Regions from separate parts of the Homo sapiens genome. Here region 1 is linked to region 2. The links are contacts of gene promoters, found by promoter capture Hi-C in human tissues and cell types (Jung and others, 2019). All regions are on one chromosome and are shown on one strand. The core of a region is centred on a gene start or on the middle of the fragment in contact, and the rest is flanking DNA. Distances in the headings are between cores, read along the strand shown.

What was found. The method cuts DNA at HindIII sites, captures the fragments that hold promoters and counts their contacts. A contact is called where the count stands out against the background at its distance.
Region 1: a contact is called between a fragment that was not itself captured here and the fragment with the promoter of TMEM115 in region 2, in 2 of the 25 tissues and cell types used here (neural progenitor cells and pancreas).

The regions. Positions count from the first base shown.
Region 1 is chr3:50,487,364-50,492,063 of GRCh38, reverse strand. All of the region lies in intron 1 of CACNA2D2 (calcium voltage-gated channel auxiliary subunit alpha2delta 2), which reads left to right. Among named protein-coding and RNA genes, the nearest start is that of CACNA2D2, 14 kb to the left of the region's middle. RefSeq lists an enhancer at 3,410-3,910. The HindIII fragment of the contact is 4,875 bases long and covers 469-4,700 here.
Region 2 is chr3:50,357,701-50,361,936 of GRCh38, reverse strand. It overlaps TMEM115 (transmembrane protein 115), which reads left to right and starts at 2,416. Exons shown (of 2, transcript NM_007024.5): 1 at 2,416-3,724. The coding sequence starts at 2,874. It overlaps LOC127898564 (CYB561D2-LOC101928965), which reads right to left. Exons shown (of 5, transcript NR_183066.1): 3 at 3,261-3,819. RefSeq lists enhancers at 2,197-2,496, 2,223-3,113. The HindIII fragment of the contact is 17,456 bases long and covers 1-4,236 here.

The sequences.
Region 1 (4,700 bases), core at 1,657-4,156, 130 kb before region 2:
TTTTGCCTACTCACTGCAGAGGACTGGGTGTCATTGGTCAGCACCCAATGGTGAATATGATGAGATCCATGCTCCACTGTGGCCAGGAACCTAGCCCTTCCCATTACTCTCTGGCTCTGTTCCCTGCACCAATCCTGGGTCTGGGCTGGACAGTGTCCAGGAGCCAGTCAGCCAAGGGCAGAGGTCTTGGGGTAAGCCCTGGGCTTTGTCCTGCTTCTGGATTGGGTACCCCTCTGGCCAGTGTTCCCCACCTGTCACATGAGGAAAGAGGGATCTCTGGGGCTGTCCAAGGGTCAGGGAAAGGAAGAAGCTGGCCTCTACAGGCCACGGCTGTGAGTCCCCCGACTGATAGTCCTCCCCTGATCCGGGTCTCTTTCTGGGGCTTTCTCCCAGTCACATGCTGGAACTGGTGGTGCTGTCGCCTGTTCTCACAGAGTAGTCAGGCAGGGCAGTCTGAACTCACTCTCAATTCTCCCACCTCTCCATCCTTCACTCTCCTTTTTCCGCCCCACTCCATGCCCACCTCACCCCCTGGGCTGTGCCTAGCAGTACGTGGGCAGAGCAACTTGAGGGGAGGGAGGCAGCATGTTTAATTGTTTAAGCCACACCTTGGCTGGCGCAGGCCACAGAAGCCCTAGGGGCTTGTACAGTAGGGTCTGTGGGCCTCCCCTTGGCCCTTCCTCTTCCAGTCTCCTCCTAACCCGCCTTAGCCTCACTGTGATAGTCTGGGCAAGCCTCCTGCCGTCCTCCTCCGAGCCTCAGTGTCCTCACTGTTCTCAGCACCCTCCATAGAAAGGGATCCTTCTGCAGCTGACAGTGGTGCTCCCCCTGCCACCTCATCTGCATAACTGTCATCTCTGTTCTGTCCTTTCCTGTAACCGGTGCTTGTGGAGACCTCAGCAAGGAGGCTGCTTCTGATGGGCACGGGGAGGGGCACAGAGTGGGATCTCTGCCCTCAGAACTGAGTGCCCAACAGAACAGAAGCCATCTCATTCCATGGGGGCTTAACAAGCACCTGCAAGCACTCAGCATGGAGGAAGCTGGGGAGAGGTTGGATGGGCTGCCGAGGGCCCTGCCAACCCCAGGCAGGACCCACCTGTTGTCCCACTGACCTCTGCCTGTCCTTCGGTGCTTGGCTTGGAGTCACTGTCCCCTGAAACCTTCGCTGACCTCCTTGTCTGGGTCAGAGGCCTCCTAGCCTGCTTCAAGCCCCTGTCCTCCCTATTCTTGTCCTGAAATAGACCTTGCTGCCTGGCTGCTCAGGGACTATGTGGCTGGGAGGGGTGGGGGCAGTGGCTGGTTGCCCTTGGCTGGAGCTCCCAGCTAGCATACACCAAGTACTCAATCCATATGTGCTGAACAGGGAGCCCATGGTCTGTGCAGGTGTCCACAGAGCCAAGCTCGTCATGACTGTGGAAAATGGAGCAGCCTCTTACACAGCAGCCTGGGACAGAGCCTGGCTTTGCTGGAGCCAGAGGGCATAGGCCACTCCCACATATCTTCCTGTGGCTTTTGCAAGGAGTTTTCCCAGCCCAGGGGCTGCCACCAAGGGCTGCTCTGGGGAGGGAAGTAAAGGGGGTGTCCAGAGACCCACTGACCTGTATTATTTAATGGGGTGGGAGGCAGGGTCCAGGCATTAGCATGTTTTCTAGAGCCCCCTCTTCCCCCTAAGTTGAGCCAAGGTACAGAACTGTGGCCTTAGGGGATAGGAAGATAAACACAGGATCCTCACCCTCTGCCCAGCAAGGGGGCACTGAGGCTCCCAGGGTTGGGGGATGGTGTATATTGGTTCTGAGCAATGTCCTAACCATGGTATCTATGGGAGCCAGCTGAACCCAAATGCCTGTGCATGCAGCCAGTTGCCAAAATCTGCAGCTTGTCCCAGGGAGATCACCTGGCTTCCCAGCCGTCTGCCCCGCTCCTTCCAAACCGCTCCTCTGCATAGACATTTGCCCATGCCCCATCTGCCCTGCCGCCCACTCCACAGCCTGCCCATCTTTCAGGACCTGCTTCCTGACCATCCCTTCCCCACCTGAATCCACTCCCACACCTTAGCTGTGTGTTGCCCTGAGTGGGCTCTGGGGTCTCCAAGGGCCAACTGGGTCCCTGCTCTTGGGACACTCAGTCCATGGGGGAGATAAACAGTGAAGAAGACATGGGAGTGAGGCCAAATAAATAACACCATGCATGGTTGGTGCTCCAAGCAGCATCCAAGGGGCCATGAGACATCCTGCTCCAGGCCCCCAGGCTCCCCTGCCATTCCCATGGCCCTGGGCCTCCCCAGTCAGGGTGTGGAGGTCCTGGGGAGATCACCTGGACACATCTTTCTCCATGGATAAGCCATTGATGGGGGGACGAGGTAAGGGGCAGGAGTTGAGTAGGGGAGAGGCTTGCCTTGCATATAGATCCAGCCCCAGCCCCAGCCCCAGCCCCAGCCCCAGCCCCAGTTTTGGAGGCTCCCGGCAGCCCCACCGCTGTCTTTCTGATGCGCTTCCGGGGCTGCTGCTCCCCTGGGCAGTGCCTCCTAGCACTTACCATGCCTTGGGCTGCCCAGACCTCATGACTATGGCCCTGCCTGTCTGGCGCCCCATAGCCCCATCTTCCCTGGCACAGAACAGCTGGGGAGGGGGTTGTGGGGAACAATCCCAAAGGCCATTAAGCCTAGTGATTTACACGGTTCCTGAGCCAGCGCGGGGGGAAGTATGTTTCACAGGTGATTTCCAGACTGGTGGCATATGGAGGAGGCCATTACTCTACAATGAAGAAGGATGGGGACTTCATGGGGCCATCTAGAAGGCCCTGGAGCTGTGGGCCCTGATGCATATGCCTGCTGTGTGGTAGAAAGCCTGGTTCTGGGGATTATAAAGGGAACCCCATATGTGACCTTGTTTGTGCCCCAGTTACCTCATCTTTATGATGGGATCACATTTCCTATGTTTCATAGTTGTAAGGATGGAACATCCAGTCATTCAGCCAGCATTTTTTGAGCACCTTCTGCCTGTCAGGTGCTGTTCTCAGGAGATGATGTTCTAGTGACAATATCTGTGTCAGAAAACACCAGGAAGGACGTGCGCGGTGGCTCATGCCTATAATCCCAGCACTTTGGGAGGCTGAGGTGGGCGGATCACAAGGTCAGGAGATCGAGACCATCCTGGCAAACAGGGTGAAACCCCATCTCTACTAAAAATACAAAAAAATTAGCCAGGTGTGGTGGTGGGCGCCCGTAGTCCCAGGTACTCGGGAGGCTGAGGAAGGAGAATGGCATGAACCCGAGGGGCGGAGCTTGCAGTGAGCAGAGATCACATCACTGCACTCCAGCCTGGGCAACAGAGCGAGACTCTGTCTCAAAAACAAAAACAAACAAAAAAAAAACACCAGGAAAATGGCGAAAGCTTTGCACTTGTGGGCACTTCTTGCTAGGGGGGTGGTAGAGGGGCTGCAGCAGGCGGGAGCTCCCATGGAGCTGGGGGAAGAGGTGTGGGGGGTGGGGTGGGTAATAACAATATCCCCAGCCTCTAATGTTTGTTGTGCTGAGCCTCAGTACTCTCTGCTGCCCTCACCCTGGGGTCAAGATTGCAAGATACAAAGTACAGGGCAGTGTCAGGATGCCGGGGGGAAGAGGCTCTGCACCCGGGCCCAGTTGTGATGGGTACTGGTTTGTTTCTGTGGAGTGAATGAATGAATGAATGAATGAAATCAGCTCCTGAGAGACTGAGCTCCCACTTAAAGAGGCCCAGCTTCCCTGGGCACAGCCGTCTCACTGCCCTTCCATCCAGTGTGTGGAGGTGCTCCCATGTACTTGAGGGTAGGAATTCTGCAGGCCTCGGTGTGGGAGCAGCCTGCCTTGGTGCCCACGGTCGGTCTGTGGGTGCTCACGGGGCATCACTGTGTGTGGAGCCCACTGCTGGGCCTTGCATATGTTGTGCCCTCCATTTGGATTGCCCTCCTGCTCTGTGGTGCCACCTTCACCTGGCCAGTCCCTAGGCCAGGTCAGGCCCCTTCCCATGCATCCCATGCATCCCATGCATCCTGTCCCCAAGGCTTGCTGGACTCTTCTTCTCATCAGGCCCCAATCCGGATCAGGTATCAGCTTCCTCTGCTTGGATTCCAAGCTCCCAAGGACAGGCCTGCATCTGCCCTGCTTGCTGCCAAATCCCTCCCAGGTGCCCATAGTAGGTACATGGTTACTATCGGAATGAATGAATGAGTGAGTGAGTGACTAGGTGGGGAGTGAGCGAGCTAGTTGGGAATTTACAGAAAGTTGGAAGCACCTGCAAAGCATTTTGCCAGTAATTTGACCTGCTGGTTCAGCCACCTGCCTCTCCTTAAGCCAATCATGAGGCTCACCAGGCAAGGTGGCTTCTCTCGGATTGGGGAGGCTAGAAAGGTGGGGTAGCTGGGGCTGCACTAGAAGCCCCTTGCTTGTGCAGCTGTGGATCCCTCACAGCCTGCAGAGGGGATTTGCTTTGCTAAAGGAGTCACCACAGAGCACCCGAGAGTAACAGGTTCATGGCGTGTCAAGGCAGGTTGAACACTCACATTCCATTTACATACAGCTTGGCGCACTCTAAGGGTCCAGGCACTAGCAAGAAGCAGATCCCAGAGGAAGTGGGCATTCTCCCCATACCTGGCTCAGGCTCCCTGGTGGGGGCATTGGAGGGAGCTGGGGCTCTGCCCTGCTGGCCAACGTTCCTACTGCA
Region 2 (4,236 bases), core at 1,167-3,666:
GTGACCTTTGCGATCTTCTCATGTGGAGAGAATTATAACCTGTAACCACCAGAGCACAGGTGTCCCTGCCTTCCCACCACAGTCCTCTCTCTCCTCCCAACACTCTGCTCTCTGCGCACTGACCTGGCTGAGTCCTCGCCACAGTCTCTGGGGTGGGTACTAGTGTATCCCCATACCACAGATGAGCAAACTAAGAGGAGAAAGCCTTTCCCCCCAGGTGAGAAGGCTAAAAACCAGCAAAGATTTTAGAGAAGAGGTGGCCACCAAGGGTTGGGGAGCTTGGATGCTAAATAGATGAAGGGGCTTCGAGGCCTCAGCCAAGATGGAGACTTTTTCTGTCTCCTCTGCAGGGTTCGGCTGCAGAGCAATGCCTAATCCACAACCCCCAAGACAGCTCCCATGGCCTGCAAGAGACCGTGCAATCTTGGATAGGGTTGTAAGATAAAATACAGAACACCCTATTTTGAATTTCAGATCATGAACGAGTTTTTAGTATGGAAGTGTTTCAACTATTGTGTGGGACATACCTATACTGAAAAACTGGGGGCTGGGCACAGTGGCTAACGCCTGTAATCCCAACACTTTGGGAGGCTGATGCAGGAGGATCGCTTGAGCTCACGAGTTCGAGATCAGCCTGGGTAGGATGGCCACCCCGCCCCTGCCCATGTCTCTACAAAATAAAAAAATTTTAAAAATTAGCTGGGCACAGTAGTGTGTGCCTGTAGTCGCAGCTAATCAGGAGGCTGAGGCTGGAGGATCCCTTCAGCCCAGGAGTTAGAGGTGGCAGTGAGCTATGATTGTGCCACTGCACTCCAGCCTTGGACAAAGCTAGACCCTGTCTCAAAAAAAAAAAAAAAAAAAAAAGGGGGCAGGGGGACATGATTATACTCGAAGATTACTCATTGTTTATCTGGAATTCAAATTTGACTGAGCATCCTTATTTTGATTTGCTAAAACTGGCAACCTTACCCAGATGTGGCAACCAGTGGGAACCCAGACCCCAGAAAAAAAGCATCAGCACCCTTTTTAACCTGTAGGCCATGCACACATCAGCACACACTGAAATCAGTGGCTGAAAGGAAGGGATCCTGTGTTTTATAAAAGCACTTTGTCATAGAATTATTTTAATTATATGGACAGCTTTTTGTTTTGTTTTGAGACAAAGTTTCGCTCTTGTTGCCCAGGCTGTAGTGCAATGGCATGATCTTGGCTCACCGCAACCTCCGCCTCCCGGGTTCAAGCGATTCTCCTGCCTCAGCATCCCGAGTAGATGGGATTACAGGCATGTGCCACCACACCTGGCTAATTTTGTATTTTTAGTAGAGATGAGGTTTATCCATGTTGGTCAGGCTGGTCTCAAACTCCCGACCTCAGGTGATCTGCCCGCCTCAGCCTCCCAAAGTGCTGGGATTACAGGCGTGAGCCACCGTGCCCAGCCTATATGTACAGTTTTTTAAAAGTAACTCCATATACAAAAAAAAAAAAAAGACACAGAACACAACCTGTCAGAAGTCACTGTGGCGTGAAGTGGGACCAGAACAGGCCTAGCCCAGGCTTGTGGAGAGACCTGGCTTGTAGAGAGACCTCTCATCCTCCGCAGTTATCAGAAGTCCCTGGTGGGGAGGAGGGTCACTGAGGGCTGCCCAGCCTCGTCCCTATGCGGGAGGGAGCCCTAGGTTCGTGCTCCAGGTCCACCTCACTTGGAAAAAGGGCAACGTGAAATAACAAACAAAAAACTTTTCCAAGTGGGAGAAAACAAACAAAAAAAGGCAACATGTGCAGCACTCGCTGAGCACCCAGGGTGGACTGGCATTTTACACCCCTTTCCCCTTTGATTATTAGGACAGGAAGATCATGTCATCAGCTACATTTTATGGCCCATGAAACTGAGTTTCAAAAAGGTTCAGGAACTTAACCAACCAATGCCACACAGCCTCCGAGGCAGAGCAAGGGTTCCAGCCTGGGTCAGGTCCCATTCACCAGACCACGGAGGTTCTGTTTCTCACACAGTGACACCTACCCACACGCCAGCCAACAAGGACACACTCGCTCAGAGGTACACGCACAAATAGAGCTACTCTTCCTAGGGAATTCAGCAAGTGTGGGGGCTAGAGCTGTGTTGCTTCCCGAACCCTCACCGCCGCTTTCAGGGGTTAGAGATGCTAATTCATCCCTTCCCACCTCCTGAGAACCGACGGAAACGGTCCCTGAGAACTACAACTCCCAGCACACCCCGCGCTCACCACAACGGGACCGGTCCGTGCTCATGGCCTCCTGGGACTTGTAGTTCTAGCCAGAACCCTGTTCAACTCTTCCCCGGCTGCAACCAAGGACTCCGTATCCCAGCATGCAGAGGAGCCGGAAGACAGGCGCTTAGAGGACAGCCCGCTGCCGCCGGGGACGCGCAGGCGCAGCACCCCTGTTTGTCGGCCCCCCGAGAGAAGAGGTACGGTCGAAGCCAGGAGCCAGGCCGAGCGGGAGCTGACCAGGCTTGACTCGGGTACAGAACGAGGCACCAGTCCCCTTGCGAACCGAAGGGCCTCGCAGTGGATGGAGGAGGCCCAGCCCTGAGGTCAACGCCAACCAGGCTAGCCTGGCACGGGGCCTACAGGGTGGGTAGGCGGGCGTGCCGCAGCCGTCCAGGGCCTTCCCTCAGGTCCCGGGCGAGGGGCCTACGCTGCGGCCCGGCAACAAGGCCCGACTCGGCCCCTCGGGACCAGAGCCCCACCCGATCGGAAGCGGATCCTTTACCAGGGCCATAGGCCAGTGACTAGGCCGGGCCTGGGCCTCCCATCGGGGCCGGACTAGGACGAGGCCCCGGGGAGGCCCCTGGCCTACCAGACCCTTTTCTCAGGCCGACAGCCGCCAGGAAGATGCAACGTGCCCTGCCAGGCGCCCGCCAGCACTTGGGGGCCATTCTGGCCAGCGCCAGCGTGGTGGTGAAGGCTCTGTGTGCGGCGGTACTATTCCTCTACCTGCTCTCCTTCGCCGTGGACACAGGCTGCCTGGCGGTCACCCCGGGCTACCTCTTTCCTCCCAACTTCTGGATCTGGACCCTGGCCACCCATGGGCTGATGGAGCAGCATGTGTGGGACGTGGCCATCAGCCTGACAACGGTGGTGGTGGCCGGGCGTTTGCTGGAGCCCCTCTGGGGGGCCTTGGAGCTGCTCATCTTCTTCTCAGTGGTGAATGTGTCTGTAGGGCTGCTGGGGGCCTTCGCCTACCTCCTCACCTACATGGCTTCCTTCAACCTGGTCTACCTGTTCACTGTCCGTATCCACGGCGCCTTGGGCTTCCTAGGTGGCGTCCTGGTGGCACTCAAGCAAACCATGGGGGACTGTGTGGTCCTGCGAGTGCCCCAGGTGCGCGTCAGTGTGATGCCCATGCTGCTGCTGGCGCTGCTGCTCCTGCTGCGGCTCGCCACGCTGCTCCAGAGCCCGGCGCTGGCTTCCTATGGCTTCGGGCTGCTCTCCAGTTGGGTATATCTTCGCTTCTACCAGCGCCATAGCCGGGGCCGAGGGGACATGGCTGACCACTTTGCTTTCGCCACTTTCTTCCCTGAGATCCTGCAGCCTGTGGTGGGTTTGCTGGCGAACTTGGTGCACAGCCTCCTGGTGAAGGTAAAGATATGCCAGAAGACGGTGAAGCGCTACGATGTGGGTGCCCCATCCTCCATCACCATCAGCCTGCCAGGCACAGACCCTCAAGACGCCGAGCGGAGAAGGTACTGTGAAATTTTCCAAAATCTTGTCAAGCTAGGAGCATACTGGTCGAGTCACATGCCATCTGTTGAGGTGTTCGCTGTACATAGGTGGAGACCTACAGTCAGGTATTGGGGCACATCCGGAAAGACAAAATCAGTCTTTGGCCTTAAGGAACTCAGCAGTTAGGTGTCTGGGGTCCACGAGGCACTTTTCTCACCACTCGGGCCACTTAATAAGTCTCAAGAAATGCAGTTTCCTTTGGTGCTGTGAAGTCCCAGTGGAGGGACACAGAACCCTGGCCTTGCCTCAGAATCTCAGAATCCTAGACATTGGGCCTGTGGGAGCCAGAAGCAACCTGCTGGTACTTTCCCCTGTGAGGAAGGGACAGGGAAGGAGGCCTGGGGTCCTCAAAAGGTGATCTGGGCCACTCCAATTTCCAAATGCTGTGTCCTCTTCCTGGGCTTTAACTCAGATGCTGTGCTTCTCTGCCACTTACTTATTGAGAGGGAAGCTTGGGGTATTACCACATTTA